Linked DNA regions of Homo sapiens: region 1 is linked to region 2. The links are contacts of gene promoters, found by promoter capture Hi-C in human tissues and cell types (Jung and others, 2019). All regions are on one chromosome and are shown on one strand. Each heading gives the region's core, a stretch centred on a gene start or on the middle of the fragment in contact. The rest is flanking DNA. Distances are from core to core; before and after follow the strand shown. Region 1 holds the start of SOX18 (SRY-box transcription factor 18). Region 2 holds the start of GID8 (GID complex subunit 8 homolog).

The links. The method cuts DNA at HindIII sites, captures the fragments that hold promoters and counts their contacts. A contact is called where the count stands out against the background at its distance.
Region 1: a contact is called between the fragment with the promoter of SOX18 here and the fragment with the promoter of GID8 in region 2, in 1 of the 25 tissues and cell types used here (dorsolateral prefrontal cortex).

The regions. Positions count from the first base shown.
Region 1 is chr20:64,046,820-64,051,924 of GRCh38, reverse strand. It overlaps SOX18 (SRY-box transcription factor 18), which reads left to right and starts at 2,286. Exons shown (of 2, transcript NM_018419.3): 1 at 2,286-2,766; 2 at 2,963-4,343. The coding sequence starts at 2,409. The coding sequence ends at 3,759. RefSeq lists promoters at 2,146-2,406, 1,509-2,406, 1,301-2,409, an enhancer at 1,734-2,415 and a silencer at 2,547-2,596. The HindIII fragment of the contact is 20,169 bases long and covers 1-5,105 here.
Region 2 is chr20:62,935,144-62,940,421 of GRCh38, reverse strand. GID8 (GID complex subunit 8 homolog) reads right to left here and starts at 2,275. Exons shown (of 5, transcript NM_017896.3): 1 at 2,169-2,275. It also overlaps a transcript of DIDO1 not described here. RefSeq lists silencers at 1,905-2,034, 2,105-2,334, 2,705-2,754, 3,025-3,074 and an enhancer at 1,541-2,209. The HindIII fragment of the contact is 10,021 bases long and covers 1-4,567 here.

The DNA of each region.
Region 1 (5,105 bases), core at 1,037-3,536, 1.1 Mb before region 2:
ACACCATCCCCTCTACAGCCCTGGCAAGTCCCCCCAGCCCTGCGGCTCCAGATCACGCCACCCTGGCTGTGGTCCCTACCCCCACTTTGTCCCATCTGGACACTGGGCCAGGGCTGCCAGCCTCCTCCCTGCCACGCAGAGGGAGAGGAGCACCTCAGGAGGCTCCCCGCCCAGCCCCGACTCACAGGACATGACAGCCGGACACCTGAGTCCACAGCCCAGCCAAGAGGGTGGGTCACTGGCTGGCGCCAGGCAAGGCGGCTGCTGGTGGGTGTTGTGGGGGACGTGGAGGCGATGAGGTCATGCCGGACACTGCCTGCCACTATGTTTAGAGCAGCTCCAGTGACTCTGGGCTCTCGGGGGTGGCAGAGGACCAAGCAGGGCCCCCAGGGAACTGCAAATCCTTCCCCACGTGTGAGGGCTACTGCAGAGGACCCCGAGGACCTCTTTCCCAGGCCGCAGTGACCAGCCACTGCCCAGGCTGAGCCAGGCCCTGGTGACCCCTGACTGCAACCCTAAGGTTGTGAGTAGAGAGAGCTTCCGCCAAGTGGTAGCCCTTTGGGGTCTTCGCACGGCTCCCCACCCCCCCTGCACCCTCCTGCCAGCTGCCCAGGAGGCCCACCCACACTGAGACTCGGCCAAGGGTCCAGCCACCCATACTGAGATTAAAGGAGGACTAGCAGCATCCGGCAGAGGCCTGTGAGCCCCTCCATCCCTGTGGCCACAACCCTGCCTGCCTCCCCAGAAAAGCCAGGGGCCGCACCTCCTGGTGCCCCACGGGCCCCCCATTAGCCAGCACTGGCTCAGTGTCTGTGAACGAGGTGCTAGGCCCGTGGGGCAAACTGGAGGGACGGGAGATCTGGAGACCAGACTGGGAGACCCAGCCCCGTATGCTGGGACGATGGGCGTCGAGACAGACTGTGATGTGGGGCTTTGGGGAGGGCTGGACACCGACCGCGACAGCCCTCGGTGGGAGTGCCCCTGTGGGGGTGCTGGCCTCAGGGCAGGAGTGCCCCTGGGGACAGTTCAGGAACAGCCTCTAAGGGGCACTGCAAGGCCCACGTGGGGCCCACCCCATTCATAACACAGGCTGGATGTGGCCTAGCGAGGCTGGCAGGGACAGAGAACCAAGAGCTTCTGGCCACACAGGCTCAGGGTCACAAGACCTGTGGCCTCTACCCATGGGGCTCCCGGCATAGTGTGGCGGGGGGAGCTGGGGAGCCTCCAGGCTATGAGGAGATGTGCCGCGAGGTGGCGAGATTCTGACCCTGCCTGGAGGGCTGCTGGGGACACCCAACCCTTCTCCAGTAGAACCATGCGTGGCAGTGGGAGGGGAGGACCTCCAGAGGGAGACCCTCAGCTCTGGAGCCCAGATCCCCTCCTGATGGAGTAGGAAGGGGACAGTGAAAATTCAGGAAGCTGGACGCTCCTCCGGAACCCGCCCCCGCCCAGGTCAGAGGGTCCAGGGAGGGGCCAGTGGGAAGGACCCAGGTAGGCCCTGCCTCTTGCTGCAGCGGTGGCCTGGGCTGGGCAGGGGAGCCAGCAAGCCACTGAGGGTCCCAGCCCCTTCCCCAAGGGCCCTTGGGGGGCAGGGAGGACGCCACAGCCTCTGCGTCCCTGCTCCCCCTTCTCTTTGTGGGCTCCGTCCAGGGCCTCTGCTCTCTCCCTCCCTGTGTCAGCTTTGCCTTGTGCCAGAGTTGGTTTGGGAGTGAGGACAGAAGACCATCTTGTCCCATAAAGGCACTCAAAGTCCCTGGTGCTGACGGTTACACATGGGTGTAGAGTTTCCAGCATGGGCGCCCCTGGGGACTCAGAGCGCCTCCCCAAAGACGGGGCCTTTTCTGAAGGCGCTGCACTCCAGGAAGGACTTACCGGCTGTTGGGAAGGCAGCCTCCCCAGAACTTGGTGTGAAAAAGGGCCCTCTCCTCCCCATGGAGCCTCCCAGCGGGGGGCGGGGAACGGCAACCAGCGGGACACTGCCGCCCTCCCCCAGTTACTGCCCGGGGGTCCGACTCCGTGGGTGGGTGGCAGCTCGCCTCCGAAAGTCTGGCAGCACCGGCCCTCATCAGCAGCCCTTTCTTTCCCACCCGGGGGGTCTCTCCTTCTGAGAGGTCGCGGGGGAGGTGGGGGGGCTGTGCGCGGGGGAGGCCTCAGCGGAATCCCGCCCGGCCTGAGAAGAAAGGGAGCCCCCGGGGAGGAGGCGGCCCCGACCCGCCCCCGCCCGCCCGCCCCGCCGCCGATTGGCCCTGAGCCGCTATATCTGGGCGCCCGCCCGGCCCGAGGCCACCGCCGTCCCCACCGCCATCCGCCCTCCCGGCCTGGCCTGCCCTTGCGCCCGGCTCCCCAGTGCCCGCCGCCCGCCCGCCGCGCTCCCGCGCTCCGTTCCGCCCAGGCCGCGCCCAGCTGGAATGCAGAGATCGCCGCCCGGCTACGGCGCACAGGACGACCCGCCCGCCCGCCGCGACTGTGCATGGGCCCCGGGACACGGGGCCGCCGCTGACACGCGCGGCCTCGCCGCCGGCCCCGCCGCCCTCGCCGCGCCCGCCGCGCCCGCCTCGCCGCCCAGCCCGCAGCGCAGTCCCCCGCGCAGCCCCGAGCCGGGGCGCTATGGCCTCAGCCCGGCCGGCCGCGGGGAACGCCAGGCGGCAGACGAGTCGCGCATCCGGCGGCCCATGAACGCCTTCATGGTGTGGGCAAAGGACGAGCGCAAGCGGCTGGCTCAGCAGAACCCGGACCTGCACAACGCGGTGCTCAGCAAGATGCTGGGTGAGCGGCGGGAGGGCGGCAGAGAAGGGGGAGAGGGCGGGGGGGGCTCGGGCCGGGGTGGGGCGGGGGGGGCAGGGGTCCCGGGCCGCGGGGTGCGGGGGCTGCGCCAAACCCTCGCGGGGCGTCCCGGGCGCACGGAGGGCTCGGCGCCCACCCGCCCGACGGCGTTCCACTCACTGGCGCCCACGGCCCGCAGGCAAAGCGTGGAAGGAGCTGAACGCGGCGGAGAAGCGGCCCTTCGTGGAGGAAGCCGAACGGCTGCGCGTGCAGCACTTGCGCGACCACCCCAACTACAAGTACCGGCCGCGCCGCAAGAAGCAGGCGCGCAAGGCCCGGCGGCTGGAGCCCGGCCTCCTGCTCCCGGGATTAGCGCCCCCGCAGCCACCGCCCGAGCCTTTCCCCGCGGCGTCTGGCTCGGCTCGCGCCTTCCGCGAGCTGCCCCCGCTGGGCGCCGAGTTCGACGGCCTGGGGCTGCCCACGCCCGAGCGCTCGCCTCTGGACGGCCTGGAGCCCGGCGAGGCTGCCTTCTTCCCACCGCCCGCGGCGCCCGAGGACTGCGCGCTGCGGCCCTTCCGCGCGCCCTACGCGCCCACCGAGTTGTCGCGGGACCCCGGCGGTTGCTACGGGGCTCCCCTGGCGGAGGCGCTCAGGACCGCGCCCCCCGCGGCGCCGCTCGCTGGCCTGTACTACGGCACCCTGGGCACGCCCGGCCCGTACCCCGGCCCGCTGTCGCCGCCGCCCGAGGCCCCGCCGCTGGAGAGCGCCGAGCCGCTGGGGCCCGCCGCCGATCTGTGGGCCGACGTGGACCTCACCGAGTTCGACCAGTACCTCAACTGCAGCCGGACTCGGCCCGACGCCCCCGGGCTCCCGTACCACGTGGCACTGGCCAAACTGGGCCCGCGCGCCATGTCCTGCCCAGAGGAGAGCAGCCTGATCTCCGCGCTGTCGGACGCCAGCAGCGCGGTCTATTACAGCGCGTGCATCTCCGGCTAGGCCGCCGGCGCCGCCCGGGTCCCTGCAGCGCTTCCTCCCGCAGCCCCCGCGACCGATCCGACCGCGTCGCTGCCGCTCTGCTCTCTCATACGCGTGTATGTTTGGTTCCATGTCACAGCCCCCTAGGAGCCAGTGATGCTCGGCCTTGCGCCCGTTCCACCTCCCAGGCCACCCTTCCTGGGCTTCTGGGCCACCTGCCCTCGGGGGGCCCCTGCGAGGGTGCCTGGAGTTCCCACGTGTCCCGGGGCTTTTCCAGGAAGCCCGAGCCCAGGACCTGTTGGCAGAGTTGCCAGGGTTACATTTTTGAAGCACCTGCTCCTTTTCTTGCAGTGTATTTTCTACAACCAGATTGTATTAATATTTTTTACTTTGCCCTTTTAAAAAATATACCTAATACAATATATTTAATTTTTAATTAAACTCTTAAACTTTTCTTCCAAGAAGTTTCAGTGATCAGAAGCGTCACTGTGGCAAAGACTTTTGCAATGTGAGGAATACAGATGTTTGCTTTCTATAAAGGAGGAGCCTGGAGCTGGGTCCCCGGACGGAGAGGCCACAATAAATCCTCGGGCCTTTCCTCTGCACACTGACATCTGTGGTGTTTGCAGGGAGGGAAAAGCAGTTCCCCAAATAGCCCTGGACGCCCCTTCCCTCCGAATCGCCCCCAGGGAGCCTGACTCCTAGCTTGAACCTCATAGCACTCCTTCATCCTTCCGTGACACATCCCAGAGAGCGTGGGTAGCAGGCATGGGTCCACACTCCCCCCCAGCCCTCCACTCCCCTCCTGTCCCACCCCCAGGTTAACTCAAGCCTATCGGAGGTCAGACTATACCAGCAATCCTGTCACACCCCCGCTAGGGTTTCATCGCCCTTGCCTCCACCTTAAAACTTCCATGCCCAAGGACTGCCCAGTACGGCCCCCTTTCCTGAGGGAGGCTGGCAGGTTGGCAGCCCACATGCAGACACAGACTCCAGGGTCTCCGTCAGCTGTTCTAACTCACCCCAGGGAGGACAGCACCATGCTACACCCACAGCGCTCCCCCCACCCGGGTGACCTGTCCAGCTCTGCCCAGAGACAGGTCCGATGGCCAAGGCAGGAGAGCACAGGCTTCACATCCCAAGACCCCCCAACTCTGGAGTCGTATCTCACTAGCCCCCAGGAGGACTGGACACCCTCTTTCTTTTTCTTTCTCTCTCTTTTTTTTTTTTGAGACGGAGTCTCGCTGTGTCACCCAGGCTGGAGTGCAGTGGAGCAATCTCGGTTCACAGCAAGCTCCACCTGCTGGGTTCACACCATTCTGCTCAGCCTCCTGAGTAGCTAGGACTACAGGCGCCCACCACCACAC
Region 2 (5,278 bases), core at 1,026-3,525:
GCCGAGATCATGCCACTGCACTCCAGCCTGGGCGACAGAACAAGACTCCGTCTCAAAAAAAAAAAAAAAATTTGCCGGGCATGGTGGCAGATGCCTGTAATCCCAGCTACTCGGGAGGCTGAGGTAGGAGAATGGCGTGAACCCGGGAGGTGGAGCTTCTAGTGAGCCGAGATGGTGCCACTGCACTCCAGCCTGGGCGACAGAGCGAGACTCCGTCTCAAAAAAAAAAAAAAAGAAAAAAAAGAAAAGAAAAAGAGAGTTGCAGGAGAGGCCAAATCTGCCGTGAGTTTTATCAGGAACAACAAGACAAAATACATGACATGTGCTTTAGCAACAAATATGTACGTGGCAAACCTATTTTGTTTGTTTTTTTTTAAATAAGGGCATGAAAGCTGACACTCAGGAGGGGGTTACCTGTGGGAGGGGCAAATGGCTGAAGCCCCAGAGGCAGCTGTTCCGGCTTTGGGAGAATGGGTGGATACCTGAGACAGGCAGGGGCACGCCACCGTCCACTCTGTCTTTCTCTTTTGCCACTGATACATACGTTACACATACTACTTTATACGAAGTACTGCTAAAGTGTTTCAATAAATTAAAAAACTTTGGTCTCTTGGCTGAAAATGGGATGAATGCAGGGTGGTGAGATCTGAGCAGCCAGTCCCTTAGGGAGACACCCAAGCGAGAGAGAACATCGGCAGAAGAGATGGAGAGCAAGGTGAGATCAAGATGCTTTGGCCAGAGTCAATGGCTGCTGCTAGACAGATTACCGGACAAAAGAGAGGGAAGAATAGAAGATGGTCACAGGTTTCAAGCATGAGAGGCCCTGCAAGATGGGGCCACAAATAAGGAGGAAGGACTGGAAGAAGAACAGGTTTGAGAAGCAGGGCAAGTTTGACGTGACTATTAGACATGCGTCTGGAGAAATCAAGCAGGTGTCTGAATTACAGATCCTGAGCTCAGAGCTGAAAACATGAATTAGTGAAATAAGGGGCGGGGGGGGCGGTGCTGGGGCACAGGGATATTTAAAGCCAAGAATTCAGCAAAGACCATAGGAAGAGCGTAGATAGGGAATGAGAATCGCCATTACTTGGAGGATGCCAACCTTGAAGGTAAAGCAGAGAAAGTGGCACCAGCAGAAGAAAACTTGATGTGGAGCGGCAGGTAAAGTGGAGGAGAAACCAGGAGTCGCTGTCACACACGAACACCCATCTTTCGTTGTCAACTGCAAAACTCACTGAGACCAACTTTTTATTCACGACAATTAATGGTAACTTAAGGACTCATTTTCTTTTTCTTTTTTTTTTGAGACAGAGCCTCGCTCTGTCGCCCAGGCTGGAGGGCAGTGGCGCGATCATGGCTCACCGCAGCCTCGACCTCCTGGGCTCAAGCGATCCTCCCACCTCAGCCTCCAGAGTAACTGGGACAACAGGAGCGCACCACTCTGCCTGGCTAATTTTTTTATTTTTAGCAGAGAAGGGAGTCTCGCTGTTGCCACGGCTGGTCTCGAACTCGCGGGCTCAAGTGATCCGCCCACTTCGACCTCCGCCACCGCGCCCGGCCCTAGGACCAACGTTAAGAGCTCCCTAGGAAAAGGCACCTTTTCTCTCGGCCCATTCGGTGATCGGCACTCACAGCGCTTCCACTCCGGGCAGTTACGTGCGCCCATGAAAAGCAACAACTTTGTAGAACTGGCCAGTCCTGTTAGCAGGAAGAACTCGGTAGTCTCAAACTCCAGCATAAAAAGATTCAGCAGAAGAAAACACCCGTGTGCTGAAGACTCCTACTTTCCATGCCACACTTTACATCCTCACCCGCTCGGTTTCTGCTTTAAAGCAGCAGATTTTATTAAAAAGACTTCGTTACGGACGTCGCTCCTCCACAGAGACAGCTACCGCCGCCCCTCAGGCTGGCCGGGACCGCCCCAGAACACCAGCGCCTGAGGCCGCGCGCCTGGAGGCTGAGCCCTGACTGCCCCCTGGGCACCGGCGCGGGGCGGCCGTCCGGGCCTGGACTCACTGCGCGCCCCAATTCCGCACCTGCCAGCGCCGGCGCTTCCAAGGCCCCCAGAGCGGGGGCGGCGCGCACCCCGGCCACATCCCGCCTGCCCGCCCGGCCCGGCCCCGGGAGACGCTCGGCCCGGCCGCCCGGGCCCGCCGCCGCCATCTTACCGTGCGGAACCTGCCTCCCGCGCTGCGCGGTCTGGGCGGCTGCGGCTCCGCAGCCTCTCCTGGGCTGGGGAGAGGTGGCGGCCGCCGGGGCGCCCGAGTAGAAGGAGGCAGAGGTGGGGGCCGCGGCGGAGGCGGGGGCGGGGGCGGGGGCGGGGAGCGGGAGGGCAGGCGCACCGGAGGCCGCCCCTCAGCACCTCTCGCGACAGCAAGAGAGCGCGAGAGCGCGAGCCGATGACCAATGAAGCGCCCCCGCGAGGGGGCGGGGCGGACGGCCTCCCGGAAGCGCGGAACCTCAGCTTCCGTACTTGCGCAGAACTCCCCTCGCGGCGACCACGCACTACGGGTTGGCGCCAGAGTCAAAAGGCGTCGGCCCTCTGGCAAGATGGCTGCTGCGGAGGCGTTGGAGCGCGGAAATCTGGAACCGGGATGGCGACGTCTACACTGAGTCGGAGGCGAAGGTCCCAGCTTTTTTCCTGTCGTTTGCGTGAGGCCGCACGGGGTGGGGCGGGGGAAAGGCGCCGGGTGTCCGCGGCCGCCCCTCAGACGGGGAGGGAGTCCCCTCCCGACCGGCGGCCTTCCAGGGCTAGTGTCCCTGAGGTCCAGGGAGAGACGGCTGACCCGAGACCGGGCTGGGCGAGAGCTGTGCTGTCTGCGCGTTGAAGCGAGTTCCCCCGCTTTACTCGAGATGTTGTTGAGCGCGTCCTCACTCGAGGCCAGGTGGGGAATCAGAAGGGCCCTGCCCTCAGGGCGCCTCCCATGGGCTACGCCGAAGGGCGGGACGCGGCCAGGGCGCGCGGGACAAAGGAGACCCCACTTGCTTGCGGGGCGGAGTCCCGGCGGCGGCGCGGGGCAGGGCCGGGGTTACTCGGTGACTGGAGACCCTCCCGGCAGGAGCGCGGGTTGAGGCCGCACTTGGGTATTTGCGCGTTTACTTGCTTATTGCCTGTCCGCTCAGGAGGAATGCGAAGTCTGTCATTGCAGGGTCCCATGTTTCCGTTGCTGGGAAGTACCTTAAAATATTTGATAGAGCCGAAGGAAGAAATAGAGTCCTTGAGGGGCAGCTCCTGATTTCATCTGTGAGGAATTCACGGGACGGCTTCTTTCTGAAGTCAGGGGTGAGGTGGTTTCGTGTGTTTGCTTACAAGCGAGCTGAACAACGTGTAAGCTATGTCGGTCGGTCTACTCAGCGACAGTAAGTCCAGTTCGGCAAATAGGTTGGAGGAGACTGATTTTGGACATTTTCCGTTAATCGAAAGAGCTAAATCTGCAGGTATAAGGTCTTGACAAAATTATGCTTCATATGCAGAGGCAGTACATGCCAGTAATTTTTTCATTTGCAACTACATAACCCTATGGGAAACAGTTATTGGTCTTTATTTAGTTATTTATTTTGAGACGAAGTCTCACTCTCGCCCAGGCTGGAGCGCAGTGGCGCCATCTCGGCTCACTGCAACCTCCGCCTCCCGGGTTCAAGCGATTCTCCTGCCTCAGCCTCCCGAGTAGCTGGGACCACAGGGGCGCACCACCACGCCCAGCTAATTTTTGTATTTTTAGTAGAGACGGGGTTTCCCCTTGTTGGTCAGGCTGGTCTCAGTGTCTTGACCTCGTGATCCGCCCGCCTCGGACTCCCAAAGTGCTGGGATTACAGGCGTGAGCCACCGCTCCCGGCCTATTTTGATTTTATTTTATTCTATTTTTTGAGAAGGAGTCTCACTTTGTTGCCCAGGCTGGAGTGCACTGTCATGATCTCGACTCACTGCAACCTCCGCCTCCTGGGTTCAAGTGATTCTCCTGCCTCAGCCTCCCGAGTAGCTGGAACTACAGGCACCCGCCACCACGCCCGGCTACTTATTTTGTATTTTTAGTACGGGTGGGGTTTCACCATGTTGGCTAGGCTGGTCTCGAACTCCTGACCTCAAATGATCACCCACCTCGGCCTCCCAAGGTGCTCGGATTACAGTCATGAGCCACCGCATCCGGCCTATTTTTATTTTTTAAAGTTTTTTAGAGACGGGGTCTTGCCTTCTTGCCCAGGCTGGTCTCGATCTCCTGGGCTCAAGCCATCCTCCCGCCTCGGCCTCTGGGAGTGCTGGGTTTACAGGCGTCAGCCACCATGCCCAGCCTGAACGTCAAGGAGAAAGTGTGCAAGGGGATGCACGAGCAGAAAGCTTGAGTGCTAGCGCCTTAAGGCGACATTCCTTAACATTCCAGTCCAAAGAGGCTGTCTCAGTGCCTGCCTGTGGGTCACAGGTTAATGCTCCTCCTCCCAACAGCCAACCGGTTACCAAGTCCTGCTCGAGCCCCCTCCTTAATCCTCTCTAGAAACTGGCTCCTTTGTGTTGTTTCCCAGCCTCTTCCACCATAACGTGGAAGCCATCATCTTTGCTTTTTGGATTGCCAGGATGTCTCCGTAACTCCTGTTGAGCTCCAGAAGTCCTGTCACTACCTCTCACATAGCAGACAGGGTGATCTCTCCAAAAGCCATCACTCATTGACTCTATCCTTCTAACATCCCTTGGGGACTCCCCAGTTGCCTGTGTAAAGTTAGCGCAGCTATAAGTCTGCACTCCTGATCTTACTCTCTGCTCCAGCCATCCCAGCTGATTGGAGGTTTTCTCATGTCAACAAGCTTTGTTATCGCTGTGCTCTCAGTCTGGGCCCTAGCTAACAGCCTTCCCTAGGCTAACTCCTGCTCACCTCCTCAGTAGAGACGTGGCTTTCTCGGGGAAGTCTTCCCTAACAAAGCTGGATTGAGTGCCTTTCCTTTATGCTTGCACAGAATCCTAACTTAGCTCTTCGTAGCTCTTAGCACACGGTCCGTGTGGTTGCTGTCTGATGGGATGTCATGATTCAGCATAAAATGGTAAGCTTCATGTGAGTTGATTATGGCTAAATCGTAATAGGAGCTCCATAAATATTTATTTGTTGAGTGACGAAGGAATAAATGAGTGAATGATTATGAGGATCTTAACTGGAAGCAATACTAGCAAAAATGGAAAGAGACCTTCAGTCAGGATGGAAATGAGCAGTCCTTGGTGACTGACAATTTGTGGGAGCTAAGAAGGAAGACCAGAGTGATGCGGGTGAGTAGCCCAGCTGATGAGGTGGTG